5 separate regions of the Homo sapiens genome follow, and all the other regions are linked to region 1. The links are contacts of gene promoters, found by promoter capture Hi-C in blood cells and fetal thymus (Javierre and others, 2016). All regions are on one chromosome and are shown on one strand. Each heading gives the region's core, a stretch centred on a gene start or on the middle of the fragment in contact. The rest is flanking DNA. Distances are from core to core; before and after follow the strand shown.

Region 1 (2,665 bases), core at 51-2,550:
GCAGATCAACTCACCTGCCTGGTGAAGAGGATGGCAGTGTCCCAGTACTCGGGGTGCTTGTCACTCACTTTGTTCAGCTTCTTCTGCCAGGCACAGAAGTTGCGCAGCGTCAGGGCCGCATTGCCGGTGACCTTGGGCCCGGAGTCACGATCTCTAAGAAGCAGCACCTTGACCACAACGATGTTGATGGGGTTGAGGATGCTGGGATGGCGGTAGAGTCGCGCCGCCGTTGCCAGCAGCGTCAGCAGATAATGTTCCAGGTCCGCGCCGTGGAACTTGACCATTGACTCGTCCGCGACCACCAGCGTCTCCACGTACCGCGGGATAGACACGAAACGCTTGGCGCGCCCAGACCTGCGCCGGCTACGACTCTCCCCGAAGCCCGCCCGCCGCGGCTTGTAAGGGTCCAGGGCCCGTAGGATGGCGGGGTTCCAGCCCGAGGCCACCCCGCAGCGAGAGGTGGGGTCTCCGGAAGGCCCGCCCGGAACACCCCGGCGCTGGAGAAGGTGTGCGCCCTGGCTGTTGCGCTGCGCCGCCGGCGCGCTAGCATTGGGCAGCGGGCTAATGACATACTCGGCGCCTCGGTAGCCAAAGGCTCCGCGGAGCCCCCCGCACAGGCTCACAGCAGCGAACGAGTCCGGCTCGGCGTTCACGTCCCCAGAATAGAAGCAGCGTCGCAGGTCTGAAGAGCCCCCGGTGAGCCCCTGGAGGGGGACGCCCAGATGCTCAGTGGAGAAGGCGGGAGCCAAGAACTGAGCATCCGGCGTCAGGTGTAGGTAAAAGTCCTCCTGAAATGCTGTGATCTGAAAAATGAGTCCCTGATCCCCGGAGTCCTCGGGACCCCGCCAGTAGTAGCGGCGGCCGTTAATGTCCGGGTCCAGTCGGATGGGAACGACTACCTCCCGCTCTGGCTCAGAGCCTCCAGCGGTTCGCCCGGCGAAAGCCAGGGTTAGGATGCCCAGCAGAAGCATGGCGCCGGGCAGCGCACCGCCGCGCTGTGGGAAGGGGCTGGGCCGGGCTCTCCGGCCGCTGCCGCGGTCTCCGTGCAGCCCGCACTCTGGAACCGCCAACGCTACGGGACAGCCGGCAGTTCCCAGAAAGGAGAGCCAAGGGAGGGAGACTCCTCCCAGGGCGGCGAGCGTGCACCCGGCAGCCCGCGCTTCCTACCTGTGCCTTTCCAAGCAAAGCGCGCCCTGGGAGCTTAAGTACAATCGCTGTCAAGTGCAAGGACGAAGATTTGCAGCCGAGAACTAGCGGAAGGTGCCGGGCGGCTTCTCGCAACCGCAGCCACTCGCAGCGCAGCAAGCCAGGCGCTGGGCGAGCCTATTAAAGGCCCCCTCCTCTTTGGACGGCCCAGTCAGCGCCCCTCCCCTCACTCCCCTCCCAGCCTCCCAGAGCTCGCTGCCGGAGCCTCCAGGGGCCACCGGAGAACTCGGTCCCGCCTCCAGAGCGGAGAGCCACTTGGCGGGGAGGGAGTGGCATTGAGCTGAGGCAGGAGGCGTGGGCTGGCCCGAGAAACCGGCGCTGAAGTCTCAGTTTGCGTTTTGCTCTTGGTTATGCCCCACTGTCCCGACGCCTCACTCGCTTCTGCCCCCGCGGACAGCGTTCACTCTCTGGGTCTTAGTCTTTTATCTCAGGGCAGATCAGGTCAGCAGCTAGGAATGAAGACCCTTCACTGACCCGTCCCCAGGCCCACCTCATCCCTGCTGTTGCAACATCCCTGCTGTTTCTTAATCACAGAGTCCCCTAAAAGACCCAGAATCAAGAACCACCCCCCCCCCCGCGTAAATGTCCTATTGCCAGAAGAGCAATAGGACAGGGGCATGGGAGCCCTCTGGAACCCAAGACCGCCTAGCCCCAAGGTCTGCCCTGGGCCCATGGTGTGCTGGATGGGCTGGGGCAAACTCTTCAGTTCTCAGGAATCTTGCCAGCCAGCTGTTAATCACGGACATTATTAAAAATTAAACTAAACACACTTACAATTAAACAAAGTGTATATATATATATGCACACACACACACATACATATATATACACATACATATATATATATACATACACACACACACACACACACACACATATATATATATATTTTTTTTTTTTTGAGACGGAGTTTTGCTCTTGTTGCCCAGGCTGGAGTGCAATGACGCGATCTCAGCTCACCGCAAACTCCGCCTTCCGGGTTCAAGCCATTCTCCTGTCTCAGCCTCCCAAGTAGCTGGAATTACAGGCATGCACCACCACGCCCAGCTAATTTTGTATTTTTAGTAAAGACAGGGTTTCTCCATGTTGGTCAGGCTGGTCTCGAACTACCGACCTCGGGTGATCCTCCTACCTTGGTTTCCTACCTCCTACCTTGGTCTCCTGAGTAACTGCGACCACAGACACACGACACCACGCTAGGCCAATTTGTGTGTGTGTGTGTGTGTGTGTGTGTGTGTGTGTGTGTGTGTGTGTATTTTTGGTAGAGACTGGGTTTCGCCGTGTTGCCCAGGCTGGTCTTGAACTCCTGAGCTCAAGCAATCCACCCACCTCGGCCTCCCGGTGCGGGGACTACAGGCGTGAGCCACCATGCCTAGCCACAAAGTACATTTTTAAAAGGTAATAAATACTCAAAACCCGTCGCTTCCTAAGTATTTGATAATTACTTATGGTCTTGAGC
Region 2 (2,665 bases), core at 53-2,552, 500 kb before region 1:
GCAAAAGACTTCTCTCAAGTCTTCTGGAAGAGGGGGGCTCCAGAATCCCTAAGCTATGTTGTGCTGGCCTGGTCAGGGCCAAATTCCAGCTCCAACTTAGATTTTGGGCCCCAAGTTCTCTCTCTCTTCCTCAACCTCAAGACCAGCTCTCATAGTGCATAATTTGAAAGTGGCCAAATACCTACAACTGTCACACATAAGGCTGTGCTGACCACCACACATTCTATATTGAGGATTCCTGCCAGAAATCAGGTAATGAAAGGCAAATGATATTAAAGAAACATGAAGAAGAATCCCGTGATTTCCACATGGACAATGCAAGTGCTCAGCGGACACTTTCATCAGGACTTTATAAATCAGTCATCAGTATGAAGTCAGCAGACTTCGTGGGATGGCAAGTTATCATTCATGAAGTCTGTTAGATGCGCAGGCCTCTGACAGGTTAGAGAAGACAAGGTGAGATGGTGGGAAGATCAAGGACTATACAAGCAGGAAGGGATGGTGTATAGAAGACGAGCAGCTGCATCCCACTTCCTCCGAAGACAACATCAGAAGGTTCAGGCTGACTTTGCAACAGGAGTGGTCGGGTGAGTCCAGCCCAGCAACCCCACAAGCCTGCAGCTCCCATGTGCCTTGCTATGTTCACAGCTTCATTGGCTGCCACGCTCAATGCATCTCTCCTTGCAGTGAATCATGCTGGCAGGGGGATGAGAGGCATCCAGTACCAAGGATGTCAAGGAGAAATCTGCAATTTTCATATGAACAGTTTCCAGGGCTCTGGTGAAAGCATCCTCCAGATCCCATGAGTCCGTCCCAGCATGGATGGTTCCTCTTTGGAGATGCCCAGTCCCTGGTGGGCAGGGCTCAGTTGGAAGGTGCCTCAGCTCAACCCATCAGGATGATCAGTTCTCATGCATCCTCCACCACCGACCAGCCCTGCTCTACCTGAGAACTCCATGCTTAGGCCGTAATAACCAGCTGTCAGAGTGGATTTTATACTGGCTATAAATTAATCTGTTTTAATTGGTTTTATTCCCAGTCAAATATGGAGAATGGGGCAGGGATGGATTCCAGAAGGATTTCAGAAAAGCATTTTATTTCATTGTATCACAGCATCTACAAGAGTTACAGTAAAATAAAACTCAGATGCCCCCCTCCCTCAAACCCGCCTGTATCTCAGAGTAATAAGCTTTCCATTTCAGTGGGGAATGAAGCTATTTGTCAGTTCCAATGTCAAGAATGAATACAATTCGAATTCTCTAGCCATTTATTTCAACAATTCTCTATTCTTCAGCTAAAATAACTTAACATAAGAAATAGCTGTTCACTCAATGTAAAACTTGCAAACCTGGTTCCACAAGGCATATTTCTAAAAAAATAATGAATCTGGAGGGGCTGTTGGAAAAGAAGCTTCATCCATCTTGGTACAATGGTAATGCCCAAGCCCACTGGAGCACTTTCCTCCAGCAGCCTAGACTCAGGAGCAGCATCCCCACAGGCTGATCTTCTCGCTTCACTCTTCATTACCATCATTATAATTGCTACCATCTCCTCATAAACATTCACGATCCATCATCTTTCCTCTTTAAACCTGATGTTTTCATGACACCCAAATGGCCCTGAATGTGAAACTTTCAATGACTGAGACATCGAGAAAAATTAGAAATCATGATAAAATTTTTCATTTTACCCCTGACAAGTCCCTGTTGTAGACAGCTGCAGAAGACAACCCCAAGCTGCAGTCTGTAGCTGGAATTGGCTTTGCATGAATGCTGGAGGGGATGGAGACCCCTGGGAAACCTGTTGACATCAGCCCGAGCCTTCCATCTTCAATGTCTGTCCTGGGGCTGAACACAAAACCTCAAGGTTCAGTAGTATTTTGCCTTCTTCACCAAAGGTTCCTCCCATCATTTCCTGTCCCATTTCCTCCCTACCAAGGGAGAATTTATACATGTCAAAAGTCCCAAAGGCCTGAAAAATGTTGCCCAGTAAAAGCCCAAATGTTGAGCTTCTCATTAAAAATAACAAACATGTATATATTATGCAGCACTTACTGTGTATCAAACTCTATCATGCAGGTAAACATAAAATATTTTACATCTATTAACTTGGGTTAGCCCTTATAACAATCCTAGGAAGTAAACGCTGTCAGTGTTCCCATATGAGGAAACTGAAGCACAGAAAGTTTCGCTGGCCTGTCTGAAGGCACACAGTTTGCAAATCGTGGCCCTGGAATTGAATCTTGAGAACCTGCTCCAGAGTTTGTGCTCTTAACCACCACACTAAAAGTCCTCCCTCAAAATTGCATATTACTGAAATTTCTAAAGAATATTTTCTGAGAACTGGGTGTTCCTGGCAATGGTTTCAGTGAGTTTCTGCCTAAAGTTAGGAAATAATAAATTCACAAGACCTCTTCCAGCTTTAGTATACCTATACATGTTTAAAGCTGTTTTCCAAATACTACAAAGGAATAAAAGAATCATCTTTTTTTCTAGTATGCTTGTGTTCTTTAATTCCCTTCAGGTAAAATTAGGGAGGAACAAGCGGGACCAAGAGGGCTAAAGGCCGATGCAGAAGAAAGAGGCAGAAAGGGAAGGAAGGCATCATGCATGTCAGGAAGACAGAATGGAAGTCTCTGCAGGACAGGATGCATGCAGGGAAATAG
Region 3 (2,665 bases), core at 121-2,620, 430 kb before region 1:
TTGGTTCCATCCAGGTGTTGGGCAAGGCAAAGTATACCAAATCCCTGAATATACAGCCATTTACAACTTAAGAAAGGCATAGTGAGTGATAATAAAGTGTGTCTTAGAAATTGAATTACAGCTTAAAAAATTTAGAGATTGTATTGTGTGAGGGCAGTGGCAGTTGTGGTGGTGATTTTTTTGGTTTGCTCTTTATCATGTTTTCCTTCCAGATTGGCGTGCTCATCATTTTTAACGAGACACCATCGCTCAGAAGTTCTGTGAACAAGAAAGATTTGTTGCACTTGGTCTTCTACACAGGCTGCCTGGGACTAGGAAATAAGACCATGCTGAGCCCAAAGGCCTAGGATAAAGCCTCTGTTTGCTGACAGGGGGAAGGGTGGGCAGAACGTAGGCAAGAGGAGAATCCAGGAAAGAGAGCAAATGTTTAAACCATGCGTGGTGCAAGTGTGTGGTTTGTGTCTTTTATCTTCAGAGTGTGGAGAAGAATAAGGAAAGCTGGCACTCTGCAGCTCCCAGGGACTAGAAGTCACTTTCCAAACTCTGTCCCTCTTTGTAGGCCTGGAGGGAGTTTATTTCTGCCAGTTTGTGAAAGTCCTGTTTCTTATATTCCTGGGCCTGACTTTTTCCAGGGCCTCCTGTTGGCCAGTTCTGTGCCTTGTATGTACAGTGCTTGACAGTGTCTTTGTCTCATCAGCAGCTGATACTTACTCAGAGATGGCACTCCTTTTCTTCGGTGAGTTGTGCTTATTAGCTTCCACAAATTTATTTGACTCATAGACTCATCTTCATCATCAGGTGCTTATTTTTACTTTTCCTACTTTTATGTCTCTCCCCAACATTTCCATTTAGAGTCTGAAAAGCTGTCTTATAGATTTGTATAAGTTTATAAATTTATATTTTGCCACATGATAAAATTCATTTTGCATCCCACACATGTACATGAGACACTTAATCACCATGCAAGAGAACAAGGAGGATATCCTTGTCCTAATGCCATGTGAGGTCCTGTCCCCATCAGATAAATTAATGTTCATTCAAAAGAATGTAACTCTTGCTTTGTAAGACATGCCAGAAGATGGCTGAGGTACCTAGGCTTGCTGGCATGTTACAACATGTTCAGTCTAGGAAGGATCATGTGGCTAAAGATTTTAGTTTGCAAGACTTTGCCCCTCTCCCTCAAGACAGTTAGATGAGACCCTAAGACACATCATTCTCCTCAGCAAAAATTGCAGAAGTATACATGGCTTGAGGTGAAGAAAGGAGACCTTGGGTCACTTAATCCCCTGCAGAGAAGCCGATCAGGTCATTGCAGCCACCTCCCTCTAGTGACCCTCTTACATAAACAGGAACAGGAATTCTTGCTACTGGATTCCTTTCATCAGGCATCTTAGGCTCACTGAATGAAAAGCCCTATAAAAAGGAGATGCGGCCCTAATAATAACAAATACGATCGTGTTGGCTATTTTGGACAAGAACAGCTTTGTGCCACTCTTGATCTCCATCGATGGCTGCCATTCTTGCCCTGCTATTACCTTACACACTTCCTATTCTTAGAATCAGTTGTGAGCCTTGGGCTTGGGGGATTGCAGCCCTCATGGCTGGAATGCCCAGCTTGAGTGGAATGCAGACTGTCTGGCAGAGTGGAGGTTAAATAAAGTTTGCCTTGGCAGCCCCCTCTGCTCTTGGATGAGTGACAAGTGACTCGAGTATAGGAGCGAGGAGTGATGGCATGAGCTGCCATGTGGTGCAGGATCAAACGAGTCTTCCGTGCATGAATAGAAGTGGTTGATTGTCCATCCATGACCCACACAGCTATGTCAGTCTTAAATGAGGTGGGTGAAGGGGAGGCCTCAACAGCCTTGAACCTCACTTCTGACCATATCACTTTGAAAAAAATTCAGGAACAGATCAAGAATAACGTTGAACCACTTTCTAGGTTTCCAGCTGAACTCCAGATTTGGTATATCTTCCCCCTCATTTTTGACTCATTTTTGAAAGTAAGATAAAGGGAAAATTTTGACTCATTTTCGAAAGTAAGACAAAGGGAAAATTTTTCATTGAAATAAGAACAGTTATCAGTCAGTCAACCATTTCTTGAGCACCAAGCACGGCGGGGAGTTTTTTTAAAGTACAAGACACAGAACTCTTACAGCTTATAATTTAGTTGAAGAAGTAAAGCTATAAACACCTTTAAAAAGATGCATATTCCAAAGTAATTGTTCCAGAGCTACCTGCCAAAGGAGGTCTATGGAGAAGGAGAGCACTTCCAGCTGTGATGGTCAAGGATTTCATGGAGGAAGTAGGGTTGAAACAGGTCTTGCCAGAAGGGCAGACTTGAGACTTGCTCTTCAGGCAAGGCGAGAAGAGGCCCTTGTTAGTGAGAGAACTATTATGAACAAAGGGCAGATGTAGGAAATCCCTAAGACAGTCATGAGGACCAGAAGATATGGCTGGGGAGGTAGAGAGAGGAATTTGTTTAAAGATCGCTAAGTCCGTAGCTGTGAAGTCTGTGTGTACATGTTACCAAGAAGGTTATAATGCTTCCCATCAGAGGAGAGCTAGAAAGATAATAGGTGCAGCCTTGCCAGAGGAGAGTTGGGAAGGTATAGGTGCAGGCTCACCCAGAGACGGAGGCCCTTTTAGTGTTCTGTTCTGTAAAACT
Region 4 (2,665 bases), core at 71-2,570, 370 kb before region 1:
GGGTTATTTATTAACTGTGTGAATAAATGCCTGTAAGTGTATTCACTGCAGAACTCCAGTACATAGAAGTGCTTTCTGGTAACGGAGTTTGCAGTGCCTGCTAATCCCTCCTGGAAAGTCTTTTCGTCCCTGAATTACGATCTCAGCCCATGTTGCCTCACACTGCCTCTCTGTTATTAAAATTCCTTTCTACACAATTCATAGGAACATAAATCCTTCCTTTAAAGTCTAACCAATAATACTTCCAGAAAATTAGATTCTCCGTTTAAAAAATTGACACTTAAAAACAATGTGCCTCCTTCCAGTCCTTCCCTCTTTCTGGAAATCTTAGGACAGGTAGAAACATGGGGGTGGATGAAATGACCTTCAGGAGCCCATCTCATGGCCACACCTGTAATCTACTCTTTGTGCTTCTTTCTTTGCTATCACTAGTCTTCTAGTCATATGACCTGGCATTATGACTTAAAATGTGATTCAAATGCTGCGTAAATATGGCCAAAATGTTTGTTTTCCTCAGTGATGGAAGTAGGATTAAGCAGGCAGGGAGCAGCGCTCCAGGGTCCACCCGCACAGGAGCCAGCAACAGACCTCACCAGACAAGTCCCCAGAGTGAATTGCTCCAGTTCCCACCACGGGCTTTCTCCGCCTGACTTATCCAAAAGGCCGAGAAGCAATCCCATCTCAGGCTTTCTCACCAGGTTGGCTTGTTTTTGTTTTTGTTTTTTTCCAAAGCACGTGTAGCTAAGTCATATCAAGGCAAACTTAGGTCAAGATGACAAGCACCTATGCCCTCAGAATGTCACACCCTCCTGCTCACTGCCATGGGGCGGGGGGCGGGTGGGTGATGTAAGGCTCAGGGAGAAACTTGCTCTGCCCCTCACTCAGGGCCAGGTACCTACAGCTTCGGGGGTCCATGTAAGGAAGGCGCAGGTCCTCTGAAAAATGCCACTGATTGGAGAGGATGACCTCAAATGTTCTGCAGAGACTCTGCTCTAGTCCCTTATAGTCATTAGATTTCAGAAAACTTTTAAGATGCTTGAGCTAAGATGTCATTTTAGAAGACTTATAGATCATTAACAAGCTAGGCATATATGCATGGAGGAGGGAGGGTGATCATGAGAAGCAACAGTAGCTAATCATCACCTCACAGTGGAAAATTTTTTACAATCCTATTAGTGGACTTGGAATCGCAAGAACGCTCCATGCCCAGATTAGCTCTGGGGCCGAGGGTCATTGTCCAGATACATGGGGCACTGGAGCAGCTGAGAAAGCCTCCGAGCATCTGGACAGCCCACTAGGATTCAGCCTTCCCACGCCGGGGACATGCTGCACACTGCACTGGGAGCTGGAAAAAGGACCCATTGAAGTTTCCGGCAGAGTCTAAGCCTGATGGGCCCTCCTTTCTAGGCACATCACACATTCTCCCTCCCCGAGAGAGAATTTGATTGGTTTATGTCATTACTTCCTTGTTGTTCCTGTTGAGCAAAATTTGTTTCTTGACCCAACTATGACCCAGACAATAGGGTTGGCCTCACTGACTCTCTTCCCCGCATATCCACTGTCAGCAAAAAAAACTGCCCAGGCCACTTTCCTGTGGGGGCATCCAAGAGTGGGACAGGTCCTTGGTGCTTCATGGATTCTCTCTCTAGAGCAGAGTCCAGTTTAAGATCTTCTGCACTGAAGTCCTCACTCCTAACCTGAGCTGCTCTTATCCTCAGCCAATACTCTGCAGCCCTAGTCTGGAAGAACAGAGCCCATTTGTAACAGAGGAAGAACCTTCTTGCATTTCCCCGCACAGCCTGATAGCAATTTAGCTTCACAAGGCCCTGAAGGGGTTGAGCCGCCCCTCCTGTTAAGGAAAGCCAGCAAATCCATACAGATGTTTTTCTGAGTGCTGTTCTGACCAGGGCTCAGGGATTAGCCTTGCCTGGTATCACATAGCATGGGGAGGTTAGGGAATTCTCTTTGTGGATCAGGAGGTATATTACATGAAATCAAAATGTAAATGTGTTCTTTTTGGATAAGGCAATGTTTTCCCTTCTATTTTTATTTATATAACCTTATCACTTAGTCTTCCTTACTTCTTTCCCTCTGCCTTCCTTGGCGCTGAGCCCACCCTGATTCTGCAGGATAGACTCAGCTAACTGGGCAGCTTTAAGTGGTATGGTTTCTAACCACTCTCCCTCTAACCGCATCTGATAAATCTCATTAAGGGGCTTTACTAGCCTCATTTTCTTATCCAATGCAGAAAATCTACTCCACCAAGATTTTCAGATGTTAAGAGATGTGACTTACAACCCAAGAGGCCAGAGAGAGTAGGGTGCCAATAGGATACATAGATTAGGTAGACAGACAGATAAATCAGATAGCTAGATGATAGATAGATAGATAGATAGATAGATAGATAGATAGATAGATAGATAGATAGACAGATAAATAGATAGATGATTTATCAGGGGACTGGCTTTTATGATTATATAGGCTGAGAAGTCCTACCATAAGCTGTCTGCATGCTGGAGAACCAGGGAGTCCTGTGGCATGGTTTAGTCCAAGTCCAAGGCCTCAGAACCAGGGAAGCGAATGTTATTACTCTCAGGTTGAAGGCCTGAGGACACAAATGGCTGCTAATGCAATTCTGGAATCCAGAGGCTACAGAACTGGAGTT
Region 5 (2,665 bases), core at 88-2,587, 320 kb before region 1:
TTAGTGCCACCCCTATTCCCTGTGGACGGCTCGAGAGTTTGTTTCTTATGACATAAGAAGGCTCACTGGCAGCGTGGGGAGAAACATGAAACCCAATTCTGTTAAAAGGTCTCTGTCTTCTGAGCAGGTACTAAGGGTCAGAAACAAATGAAGAATTCTCTGATATTTGGTGACAACAGGCGTCTCCACTGCAGGGGTCTGGGAGTGAATTATTGGAGCATGGTTCAATTTGATATTCATGCACTGCTTAGTACACTGCCTGGCACACAGTAAGTCATCAATAATGCTTGTGGAATGAATGAATGAATGAATGAATGAAGTCCTCTCTCCTCTGTCATGTGGCCATATTCCTTAGACATTTCCGTGTGCCTTATCCATGTGAGGATTCAGTCCTCACGGAACTCATCACTGGCCACATCTTCCCAGCAATGAGTTCTATGAGGATTGCACCCTCACTTTGGGTGTGATCTCCCTGTAATGCTGTCTTGAGAGCATGTGATGGAAATCCCTTTAAAAAAGAAAGGACTTTCCTTTCTTACCCCCAAACACCATTCCCCTGAATACAGCTTTCTACTACAGAGGATTCCAGACTTGCTTCTCATCCCTCTGCAGGGGTCGCTGGCCTCTCTATGCACTCCACCATCTAGACTGTGAGCTTCTTAAGACAGAAAACAAACAGCTTATTTACCCCTCACCTCTAGAGCTCAGCACACTGAGGGCATCCAATACACAGCAACTGACGATGAGCTTATTCCAGGGAAAGTGGAATGTGAGTGGGAGGAGGACTGCAACCAGGTTGCTCAGTCTATCTAATGACATCCATTACAAAACCTCAGAGTTCCTTGGGAATAAGCTGCATTTCCCGGAGATGGGCAATGTGGAAAGATGGCAACAGCTTCTGGCTGAGCAGGTATGTGGAAGATGGTTCTCATTTGCTTAGTAGGGACAGTGCAGCACAGTGATTGCGTGTGGCCTATAGAGCCAGACTACCTGAGTTACGCCCTGGCTTTCCCCTCATTAATTTTATGACCTTAGAGAGGCCATTTAATCTCATGTTCCTTGATTTTATCTGTAAATGGGGCAGTAATCACAGAGAAGAATAAACAAGTTCATACAGGTAAAGGACTTAGATCATGGCCTGGCACACGCTAAGTTTGTGAGAAATATTCGCTAGTATGATTCTCTTTGTGCAGGAAGGAAGTGGGGATCGCTTACCCTGGAAGGAGACTACTTTAGATCTGAAGGACAATGTTTTCAGTTGAACTACTGAGCCTCATCCATTTTTGGGCTTCTGTCCGTTATCTAAGAGGTCTCCCTGTCCCCAGCCTTGCTCTTTCTGACACCTGCTTCACCGTGTCTCCAGGATCACCTTTCCAGCATGCAGGTCTGACCGCAGCACTGTCTTCTTGAAAGTCCACAGGACGCACTCTCAGCTCCCAGCTCGGTGCTCAGTGCCCTGCCGGGTGTGATCTTGGCCATGGCTCCTGTTTCACCTCCTGCAACTTTCCACCTCTCCCTCCCAATGGGCTCCAGGAGCACGCGGAGTTTTGAGCTTCCTCCCACACATGATGGTCTTGCACCTCACAAAAGCACTGCTCCTGCTGTCAGGAACGGCTCCTTCTCCACTGCAACCCCCTCTTCACTCTCACCCTCACCCTGACCCTGCTATGTGAACAGCGGGCTTCTGCTTTTCCTTCAGAGCACACTTGAGGAATGGTGAAGCTGTCTTAGATGCTGTTAGAGCTGAATCGTGTTCCCCAGAATTCGTGTATTTGATTCCTAACCCCCAGCACCCCAGAATGTGACTATACTTGGAGACAGGGCCTTTAAAGAGGAAATGAAGTTAAAATGTGGCCGTTGGTTTGGGCCCTGATCCATTCCGGCTGGTGTCCTCATAAAAAGAGGAAACTTTGACACGTGAAGAGACACCAGGATACAGGCACAGAGGGAAGGCCGCATGCAGACACTGAAGGAGGTGGCCGTCTGTAAGCCAGAGGGCCTCAGAGGAAACCAGCCCTGCCAGCACTCTCGTCTTCGACCTCCAGCCTCCAGAACTCTAAGGAAATAAATTTCTGTTCCTTAGGCCACCTGGTCTGCGGTATTTTGTTATGGTAGCAGAGCAAATTCATACAGATGCCCATAGAATAGCCTTGATTTAGGTGTTCCCTATAAGACAGACATAAGCTGTCTGTGACATTGGCAGCTCCTATTAGGCGGGGCTCAGGGACTCTCCTTATTCTTCACTCTAAGTCCTACACAACTGCTGGAAACATGTGTTAATAAACATCACAGTCAAGAACTTCTCAGTGAGCACGTGGGCACACGGGTATCCTTGGTGTCTGGGGATACATCCTACTTCGAGACTGTTTTATTTTTTAAATGTATGTAAATGTTTGATTCTACTCTATAGAATGTTTTGCTATAAAAATGCTTTGAATTTCAAGTTACTGGTCAAAATTACTTAACTTTTACAAGCCCAACCTTGGAGTGAAACTGGTTAAGGACATGTACCGTGGTATCTGATGGTTTTTCCTGCCTCCTATGTGTGGACATGCTCTGAGAGTTCCGGGACAAGCAGTCGCAGTAGGCAGGAAATATGTAGGATATTCCAGGAACTGTTTTATGGAGAACATAGAGCAGAGGGAGCTAAAGACACCCAGAGACC

What was found. The method cuts DNA at HindIII sites, captures the fragments that hold promoters and counts their contacts. A CHiCAGO score of 5 or more calls a contact.
Region 2: a fragment that was not itself captured here is called in contact with the fragment with the promoter of ADAMTS15 in region 1 in 4 of 17 cell types (total B cells, naive CD8 T cells, total CD4 T cells and 1 more); the score reaches 9.8 in total B cells.
Region 3: a fragment that was not itself captured here is called in contact with the fragment with the promoter of ADAMTS15 in region 1 in 15 of 17 cell types (naive B cells, total B cells, fetal thymus and 12 more); the score reaches 13.4 in naive B cells.
Region 4: a fragment that was not itself captured here is called in contact with the fragment with the promoter of ADAMTS15 in region 1 in 1 of 17 cell types (endothelial precursors); the score reaches 5.2 in endothelial precursors.
Region 5: a contact is called between a fragment that was not itself captured here and the fragment with the promoter of ADAMTS15 in region 1, in 1 of 17 cell types (endothelial precursors). The highest score is 6.5, in endothelial precursors.

Annotation. Positions count from the first base shown.
Region 1 is chr11:130,447,280-130,449,944 of GRCh38, reverse strand. ADAMTS15 (ADAM metallopeptidase with thrombospondin type 1 motif 15) reads right to left here and starts at 1,300. Exons shown (of 8, transcript NM_139055.4): 1 at 15-1,300. The coding sequence starts at 971. The HindIII fragment of the contact is 10,038 bases long and covers 1-2,665 here.
Region 2 is chr11:130,948,575-130,951,239 of GRCh38, reverse strand. No RefSeq gene overlaps it. Among named protein-coding and RNA genes, the nearest start is that of SNX19, 33 kb to the right of the region's middle. The HindIII fragment of the contact is 221 bases long and covers 1,192-1,412 here.
Region 3 is chr11:130,881,381-130,884,045 of GRCh38, reverse strand. All of the region lies in intron 8 of SNX19 (sorting nexin 19), which reads left to right. Among named protein-coding and RNA genes, the nearest start is that of LINC02551, 21 kb to the right of the region's middle. The HindIII fragment of the contact is 3,697 bases long and covers 1-2,665 here.
Region 4 is chr11:130,814,108-130,816,772 of GRCh38, reverse strand. No RefSeq gene overlaps it. Among named protein-coding and RNA genes, the nearest start is that of LINC02551, 47 kb to the left of the region's middle. The HindIII fragment of the contact is 7,529 bases long and covers 1-2,665 here.
Region 5 is chr11:130,768,403-130,771,067 of GRCh38, reverse strand. No RefSeq gene overlaps it. Among named protein-coding and RNA genes, the nearest start is that of LINC02551, 92 kb to the left of the region's middle. The HindIII fragment of the contact is 4,264 bases long and covers 1-2,665 here.